Linked DNA regions of Homo sapiens: region 2 is linked to region 1. The links are contacts of gene promoters, found by promoter capture Hi-C in blood cells and fetal thymus (Javierre and others, 2016). All regions are on one chromosome and are shown on one strand. Each heading gives the region's core, a stretch centred on a gene start or on the middle of the fragment in contact. The rest is flanking DNA. Distances are from core to core; before and after follow the strand shown. Region 1 holds the start of NRXN3-AS1 (NRXN3 antisense RNA 1). Region 2 overlaps CEP128 (centrosomal protein 128).

Evidence for each region. The method cuts DNA at HindIII sites, captures the fragments that hold promoters and counts their contacts. A CHiCAGO score of 5 or more calls a contact.
Region 2: a fragment that was not itself captured here is called in contact with the fragment with the promoter of NRXN3-AS1 in region 1 in 4 of 17 cell types (M0 macrophages, M1 macrophages, M2 macrophages and 1 more); the score reaches 10.9 in M0 macrophages.

The regions. Positions count from the first base shown.
Region 1 is chr14:79,073,175-79,078,027 of GRCh38, reverse strand. It overlaps NRXN3-AS1 (NRXN3 antisense RNA 1), which reads left to right and starts at 2,503. Exons shown (of 3, transcript XR_007064282.1): 1 at 2,503-2,568; 2 at 3,210-3,480. The region is part of intron 15 of NRXN3 (neurexin 3); the gene reads right to left. It overlaps LOC105370588 (a long non-coding RNA gene), which reads left to right. Exons shown (of 4, transcript XR_007064284.1): 4 at 753-829. The HindIII fragment of the contact is 3,991 bases long and covers 13-4,003 here.
Region 2 is chr14:80,847,424-80,852,276 of GRCh38, reverse strand. The region is part of intron 9 of CEP128 (centrosomal protein 128); the gene reads left to right. Among named protein-coding and RNA genes, the nearest start is that of CEP128, 92 kb to the left of the region's middle. The HindIII fragment of the contact is 4,892 bases long and covers 272-4,853 here.

The sequences.
Region 1 (4,853 bases), core at 1,254-3,753:
TTTTTGAAAGCTTTATTGGAATTTCTACATAAGGCTACATACATTTCTAAATAGCTCCCTCAAACTAGAAACTTGTCTATAAAACAACTGAAATCAAATGGAAAGCCCCTTTTCTCAGCCTTATATAAGTAAACCTTACTTATATATACCTGATCAATAGGGCTATACTCTCCCTGACAGATGTTTTCATTTTTTCTGCCTGAATATAATGTAAATGGAGCAAATTCTACCCTAAGGTGCAATATTATACCACAGACTGATATAATAATAATTTATGGCCTATATATTATAGTTATATAAAATGTCTCATACCACATCACCAATTATAAGGGGCTGATCTGCAATACAACTGATAGGTTTAGTCCTATAGGACATTTCATTCCAGTTATAGTTTAATTTTCAACCTTACTCATTTGTGATCTCTCTTTATAATTGCCAAAAAGTTCAGGGATCATATGAAGCACTGTTTTTCAAATGGCCCATGTGGAAGCAGAAGCCTAGTACATATCTTTGATAAAAGAATTAACAAGGATAGTAATTTATTATATTCTGTAGGGAGAGAAATTAATAATTTAACTACAGAAGAATTCAGATGAATAGGAAAAGAAGAGGAAAAAAAGGAAAACTAGAAAAAAATTGCTTTCCAGGTTCACAGAAGGCAAACATCGTGTGGACACTTCCCCAGTGCCTCGGGCTATGTGGTTAAGACTAAACACACCGTGTGCTCTATCTTCTATTTGTTGAACCTCCAGGTGGAACCAGATTAGCAGAAAGAACGTTTCCTCGGTCATGAGGGAATTTAATTCTTATCACCTGCTGTGGAAGATTGGCAACAGCATTCCTGACCTAAAGAATAAACTTCTAATTGTTCTTAAGAAGGTAATTCCACCAAGGTAATTCTAGGTCTGCTTCAGCTATTCCTTATTTTTGAGTGATTTTATTTCAGACTTAAATCCATTCCCTTGACGATAACTGGAGAAATGAAGCATAGGAAGAAAATTGTCCAGAAAGGATAACACCAAACATTAATCTCTTTTGGAACAGAGAGACTCTTTGTTTTTAGTAAACTAGACACAGTTTCATGGGCATGTAGGTACTTGAGTGCCCACAATGCACCAGGCAATGTGCTGGGGGTGGCAAGAAATAAATGCAATGCTTCTCTACTCTGTGGCAAGCCCTGTGATAGAACTTTTTACACGCCATCTCAGCAGACCCTGCATTTGTCTAATGTCTATTTCATGCTTTTTACACCTGTGTAAGGCAGTCTATAAGGTGGCTCCCAACTGTCTCAGCCTCCTGGTATTCATACCCTTGATTATTCCCTCCCCTTAAATGTCCTATACTTATTGACTCACTTCTAAGTGATGAATAGAATACAGTAGAGGTGACAGGATGTCACTTTCAAGATTAGATTGAAAACAACAATGGCTTCCACCTTCTCCCCAACCCTCAATCAAAGACAGCTATTAAGTTGTAAGCTGTCCTGTAGAAAGGCTCTTGTGCCAATGAAGTATTATCTGTGGCCAACAGTCCACAATGACTAAGGCCTGCCACCAGCCATAGGTAAGGGCTTGGAAGCAGATCTCTCCCAAGTTGAGGTGACTGAAGCCCTGGCTGTCACCTCGGTTGCAGCCTTATGGAGGGACTCTAAGCCAGAGGCACCCAGCTAAGCCACATCTGGATTCCTGACCTGCAAAAATTAGGAGGTAATGCCTTGTTGATTTTTGAGCTGCTACGTTTTGGAGTTATTTGTTATGCAGCAATAGAGAACTAATATAACACCATTTCCTCCTCTCTAGTCACCATTATTTAGAAACAACTCCATGAATGAACAATGAGAATCAAGAGCTGGGAATCAATAGTTGAGGTGACAGATTAGGCAACAGCATGATGGCCAGCACGTGTCTCACCCAGAAGCTGTCCTCTTCCTTCTTATAAGACAAGGCTCTAACTCATGAGGATGGTTTTTACCACAAAGTTGCACGAGGTGCTTGAATTTACCACAAAGTTGCAGGAGGTGCTTGACTAGTACAGGAGCACAGCTAAAAAAGGCTCTGCAGACCAAGTCTTCCATATTGATCACATCTTAGCTAACACTGCTATGGCTTAATTGGGCAAACGGCCAATGGCATCTGATCTGCCATTTTCCATTTCTCTCAAAAACTAGTTAAGGTATGGGAAGGACATCTACCTCATTTTCCTCTCCTGCCTCCCCGCCTGCCACACACATTGAGGGCCAAGAATGGCTCTTTGTAAAGCTACTTGAAATAAATGCTACAGGCCTCGTCCTGCTTGGAAGTAAATCTGGATGGAATGTAATCAAACAGCATGCATTTGGCATCAACTTATGTTTGAGCATTGCAGGTATAAAAATGAAAAATATGTTTTGGCAGAGAGTTGGACAGAAAGGAAGACTTAATTAAATATCTGAAATATACACCACTGGAACCAATTAATAATCATCAAGGGATCAGAAAAGGAAGGACAGTAATAAAAAGAGTTTATAAAGTCGAAATTTCAGGTGAGAGGGAAAAAATCCTATCCACATTCTTCTGAATCTCTGAATTGGTAAGCAACACTTTATTTTTCATTTTCCTAACTAATATTTATGCATTGTCAATGTCCTACTGCCTTCAATAAGTTTACAATCTAACTGGGAGACCAAAATCTCTAAAATGCAATAATGTGTGCATCAAAACTCAAGTTCTTATCAGGGACTGATTACTTTGGAGTCCTCAGCTCCATCTCCTAACCCATGTATACACTTTCATAGTTCCTCTTCAGAAAGGAACTATTTTTATTCTGTAAAAATCTAGTGGTCAAATGAAATGGGTATGCTTTATAGGTAAGGATCCTGAAGCAAAAATCAAATGCATAAAGATTACACGGCAAATGAAGTAAGAGATTTTTAAGCTCTGACACCATTTGATTTTTAGTTTTTTCTATCACAAAATAGTGCTAATAGCTTATAAAATTAAAATAAGTAAAAGTAGCTTTGTTAAAGCAGAAAGAAACTTACACTTCCCTACAACAATTTGCAAACTTAAGTCAAATGATCAATGATCAAATAGCAGAGGCTGGAGTGTGCCCAAGGGGGACTTGATCTTATTCTGGGTGTTTTAGCCCAAGCAGAAATCAATGCAGGGTTTTCTGCCACCTGCTTATTTTGTTTCCAGTCAAGCAAAACAAGGGGCTTATCTCCCTCACAGATCAGCATATGAGATATGCTTCAGATATGTTTGCCTGTCAGACTCATAAACACAACAAGATATGCCAGCTGCAATGAAGAGAAGCCCTGTTTCAGTTCGTGGATTACAGACTGCAACATCCATCAGCATCAAGACAAACACCTTCAAACTACTGTCCTTGGCGTCCAGCCTAACAGATCTGAGGAATGTGATAAAGGAACACTGGATTCCCAAGGTCTGCTCAGGTTTCCTTCCATAACAAGAAGTAGCCAAATACAGCTGAACAGGCCTGGTAAGTAAAGGAGAAGCCTCCTTCCTTGAAACACTTTGCTGTATTCTCAAGAACAAACACAGACCCCTAGTATCTAGGTCTTAGTACTCATGATGACTACCGACCTCTGGACCAGTTATATCTGTCAAGCCTTAACTATTTTACTAGCATATTTCCCCTAGAACTGATTTAGTAATTTGAGAAATAAAAATGTTATAATACCTTTCATATAGAGAAATAATTTTTTCAACTCATTGGAAGTACATTATCATTTTGATCATTAAAATTACCCTTTGAAATACATTGGGCAAATATTTTTATTTTAAAGATGAGAAGGAAGCTCCAAAGACACTAAAATTTGATGTGCAAGACTGCAGAGCTAGTTTGTAGAAATGTGGAATGGACCCATATGTTTTTTGTACCACTCCAATTTAAGAATACATTTAGTCATGTATAAGTCATGACTAATAATATTCATTGTGTACCTACGATGTGGAAGGTAATGTGTTAGATAATGTGAACAATGCAGGTAAACTACTAAGCTTCATTTTATTTAACAAAAATGTATATTGTGCCTACCATATGGCAGGTACTTTTCTACGTGTGTTACAGAGATTTAATCCTTATAAAATACCCTCCTATGTAGTGGTTACTAGGCACAGAGAGGTTAAATAACGTGTCCAAGGTCACTCAGCCAGTAAGTAGCAGAGCTGCAATTTGAGCACAGGCAGTCTGGCTTGAGAAAATGTTTTCTTGATACTTTACTATGTATGCTACTTTACAAAAGACTGATAGTTGATAGCTCCAAGACAGTGAAGGAATATCAACAGCCATGTGCAGATAGAAAAAAATGGATAGAAATAAAGCCCTTCAATATATTTCTGACTTAGATTTTTAAAGAAGGGCTGGGAACAGTTGCAAAGGGAAGGGAATAAAAAGAAAAGGCTGTTGTTAACACACTGTATTGCAAAGAGCTTTCCAATTTCTTTAAGGACCTAAGCCACCAAACACTGGTCCTAGTAACTTCTATCACATAGATTAACTAGGACTCCCATTTCAGCATTGATTTTATTCACATCAAGCAGGAGGAAAATGCTGATTTAATCTGTAATTTTCTTACATGGCACAATGCAATGTGTGTAAGAAAAATAAATGCCAATTTGTCTTTAAGATACTAATCTGGAGCAAGTTCCTACAGGAAATAGGTAAAGGCAATATCTAGATGCCTCAATGCCATGTCTAGATTTTGTGCATTCTAAACTCTATCTGTAGAATTTTGACTCTCTGAAATAGTTTCTACATTACCAAGTATCTCCAAAAAAGGGGGGATATCCGTTGGTTGCAGTAGCATGACTTTTAGCTTAGAAAATAACTTAGAGACGGGCCGGGCGCGG
Region 2 (4,853 bases), core at 1,468-3,967, 1.8 Mb before region 1:
TGTGTGCTTATTTTTAAACTCTTTTTATTGTTTTTAATTTAACTCCTTTGAAAGTTGTTGAAACTTCCATTTTGACCTAATTCTATGACCAATTTTTTGTAAGTACTCCAGAGTAAGAAACAAATATTTTTCTGTGTTTTGGATGCAGAATTTTATGTGCTTGTGCATGTCATACATGCATACATACACACACACATATATAAATTTAATAGGTCATTTGTGAATTTTGTTGTTCTGTTCTTCTGTTTTCTTAGTACATATATCTAAAGCTTCTCATTATTATAGAGATTATCAGTTTCTCCGTGTGATTTGTGTCAGTTTTCTTTTATCTGTTTTGTGCATGTGGTATCTTATGTATAATTAAATTACTTCTTGGTCAATTATTTAAAAAATATTACCTAGTGTGCCTCTTGATTTTAACATTCTTAAGATTACTTTATTCATGGCATATCATTTTCCCTCTTTAATCTTTCCTTAGTATTTCCATTTTTCCATGTTTCTTACAAAACACCTTATAGTTTGTTAAAAATAACTTTATCTTATAAATTAATGGTTGCATTAGTCATTTTATACTTACTGCGATTATTGGAATATTTTAAAGTGTTTTTATCTTATTTATTTTTTTTTAACTTCTCTTTTTGTTTCTTTTTCCCATTTCTATTTGGAGTGGAGTATATTATATATTCATTTTTATACTTTCTGTTTGCTTTGGAGCTGTAGATTATATTTCTGTTCTTTTGATAGCTGTTCTAAGATTTTAAACATACAGTACTTATTAGTCTAAGATATCTATGTTCCAGCTACATTGGATTCTTCTCAGTGTCTTACTGGAACATTTTTCTCCCTTCTCGTTCCTCAGGCTCAATTGTGACCTCTTTAGGGAAAACTTTCCCGTTCCTCCTCGCCTTCTAAAATCGCCCCTTCAGTTCCATTGCTCACTGTCATGTATCATATTACTCTATTTTTAAAAATAGCATTTAACACAAACTATAATTATTGTTTGTTTGCTTATGCTATTATATGCCTTTTGCCAAAGAATGTAGACTCCATTGGAGGGGCTTTGTGCATCTCGTTTACCCTTGTTTCTGGGACAGGTAGTACAGGGTTTATCACACAGAGCTCACTGAACAGGTGCTAAAGAAATTGACGTTTCCAAATGTAAGTGATTGTTCAGCTGCATATAACATTCTTGGTAAATTTCACTCCAAGATTTTTATACCTTGTGTTACTCTACTGCTCTCATTCCTGAAGACAGAAAGTAAAAGTTAAACAATTTTAACTTATTTGAAGTTTATATAGTAGTTACAATGATATATTCAAAATTCCATAAACATTCTTCAAGAATTCAATCATAGTTAAATTAAACATAATTCAACTCTATAAAAATAACATTTTCGTATAGTGGGTTGCTGGTTTTCAAACTATACTGACAACTTAATAAAGACAGCTGGATTTTTGATATCTTTGTGTTTAACAAAGTTTGAAAAAGAAATTTAGAATGGAGATGCCCAGATACATGCATTCTAAATGTAGACCTCTTTGAAATATTAATTATGGATTTATGAAGAATGTTAACATAGCTGTGTGAGCGTGAATAAAGTGACATTTCATGGAACTGTTTCCTTTGTGAGCTGACAGCAAATGCTGATTGACTTTTCTTTTGGGATACTGCAAATAATGGACAGAAAGAATTTTTAAAGAGACTTTGTAGATACAATTCCTTTTCTTCGTGTTTTTCTGAATGTTTGTGAGGGCAATATCTTTTAATTTAGATTTTCACATAATTTGCATTAAATGTTTTAAATAAATTGATAAAGGTCATAGAATACTTGATAGGGAATTACTACAAGTTTTGACCACTAGTCGTCAGTATTGAACCATTAATTGTGAAGTAGTAGACACTGTTTATTAAAGTTGGCCAAATTTATTGAAAAACAATTATTTATAGTGTGTATACTCTCAACTCTTAGGGCTTTCTGAAAGTGTACTTGGCACTAGCCTCACAAATGAAAAAAATCTAATTAACTGTCTGTTATTACAAATTTAAATTTGAAACGGTGTTACCCTCTGCTGTTAAAAAGTATGACACATTGTGTATTTTATATGAAGACACCTGCTGTATTTATCATGAAAACTGTCATTTCTTTGCCTTTGTATTATAGTTTCATGCTTCCTCTTCAGGATTACAGGTTTTTCCCTTCTTCCTTCCTCCTTCCCTCCCTCCCTCTATGGAAGAAACTATTTATATCTAGTAAAACAGATTATAATTTGATATGAGCATTTTTTTCGCGGGAATCATATATTCCCATTCCCTTTTCCACTTTTAATATTTCGAAGCTGTGCATGCAGAATTTTCCCAAAGATACTTTCTATAAATATTCATCTTATGTAGACCTAAACCTCTTTCTCCTAATTGTTATTTTCTTGTTTTTGGTGGTGATTTCCTTTTGTACACTGTTGTCCATCTACCCAGTTATATTTATTTTCTATTGGTGTTCTGTTGGATAGTTTATCCAACAGATAGATTATCCTTTGCCTATTTTTTCTTTAGTTGTTGGAAAAGCATTTTTTATAGCTCTCATGACTCATTGTGTTTCTAGTTAATTTGTATTTCTATTAAGTACCCCAAATCCCTTTTTAAAAAATATTAAAGTTGTGGTATTAATTATTCATTGCTCAAAAAATGAAAAGCTGTTATTTCTTATATATCTTTGTCCATACTGTGGTCAAGTATTAGGATAGTATTTAGAACTATAACCTCATTATTTCATCGTTTAATGGATTTTGTATGGTTGTGACAAAAAAGTTACAGTTTTATGTTTATTATCTGAGAATGAGATCCTGAAACTTTCCTCGCCAGTGTTAGTCTTGGATGGGCAATCAAGTTACAGTGATGCTGTGATTCAAAGCCACAAAGTGTGGGCGAACTTGGGTCTCTGGAGCTCCCAGTTTCCAGTTCTTTCTCCTCCTGACCTGTGAACTTGTTTGGAAGGTGCAAAATCTTACTCTTTTTGTGTGGTTCATCTTATAATGTTTCTTCTTAAACAGATAGATAACCATCTTGATAAAATAATTTGTTTTATATTTTAAAACCTTTATATGTTTCCTTTATGTCTTTGCCTCTCCTTTTCTCCTGTTCTTTACACCAAGTCTATCATTAAATTTTGTCAGCTCTATTTAAAAAATATTTTTTTAAATTGGAAACTGTTCATTTCCTACCACTACATCTCCTCTTTTGCTGGGGCTAATGCTGTAGCCTCCTTGCTTCCATTCTTACCTCCTTGTGGTCTTTTACAGAATCAGATAATGTCACATCTTTCTTCAAGACCCTTCAATGGTTTCTTTTGTTTTTTTTTTGAGACAGTCTCACTCTGTTGCCCAGGCTAGAGTGCAGTGGCATGATGTTGGTTCACTGCAGCCACCACCTCCTGGGTTCAAGTGATTCTTATGCCTCAGCCTCCCGAGTATCTGGGATTACAGGCATGTCCCACCATGTCTGGCTAATCAATGGTTTATTTATAGACAATAGATCCCCTCTGATCTGGTTTCTGAATTCCTCTCACCCTAATTTTCTTTCTTTCTTTCCTTTCTTCTCTTTTTCTTTTTTTTTTTGTTTTGAAATGTAGTCTTACTCTGTCTCCCAGGCTGGAGTGCAGTGGCACGATCTTGGCTCACTGCAGCCTCTGACTCCCAGGTTCAAGCGATTCTCTGCCTCAGCCTCCTGAATAGTTGGAATTACAAGCATGCGCCAAGACACCCAGCTAATTTTTTGTAATTTAAGTAGAGATGGAGTTTCGTCATGTTGACCAGGCTGGTCTCAAACTCCTGGCCTCAAGTGATCCTCCCACCTTGGCCTCCCAAAGTGCTGGGATTAAAGGCACGAGCCACCATGCCCAACCCCTAATTTTCTATTGTTGTTCTTCTTGCCAACTCTAGGCCAACCATCCTGGCCGTCTTGCTTTTCCATGGATATACCATGTACCTCCTGCTCCTGGGCATTTGCACTTTCTGTTCCCACAGCTAGGAATTTTCAGCTCTGAAACAGTTGTACGGTTTGTGCGCTCATGTTCAGAACTCTACTTCAGAAAGCCCTTATTGACTATCATAGATAAAACACTCCTTCACTCCTGAGCCCCTTGCACTGTTGTATGTTTTCTTAACACTTTCATTATTTGTCAACCATCTGTCCCCTTGAGCAGAATGCAGGCTTTATGGAGGCAGGGACTTACCTGCTTTGCTTGTTGCTGCATCCCCAGTACCAGGACCAGTGCTTGGCATAGAGTAGGGGCCCAGTAAGTGTTTCTTGAAGGAATGAATGAATAAATATTGCTTACTGTATAGTAACTATTCATTCAGTAAAATATTCATTTGGCCAATACTATCATGTACCTAATATAATTCAGGTACTGCGCTGGGGACTAGGGATTTAAAGATACCTAAAATACTATCTCACCTTTTAGGGACCCCTAGTTTAGTTGAGGAAATAGAGATGTTAACTATCTTTGCAATGCAGTAAGGGCATTATTCCACATTTGTGTAGTCTACAGAATATCTCAGAGGGGAAATAATTACCTCTTTATGGCCCCTTGGGGAAAGTTTGGGTGAGAGAGGTGGCATTTTTGCTAAGACTGTATTTTCACATTATTTTAGGAAATTCTTCATGAATGTGATTCTGCCCCACTGCTTGTTGTTAACATGTCAAGCACTTTACCAATCAATGGCTGAAACACTTATATAAATTTTGACCTACTATCATTTTTATCCATACCATTGCTCTTTGTCCTATCATCATACACCATACTAATTATTTTCTTCTTTATATTTGTTACTTGTGGTAACAAATAACAAATTTT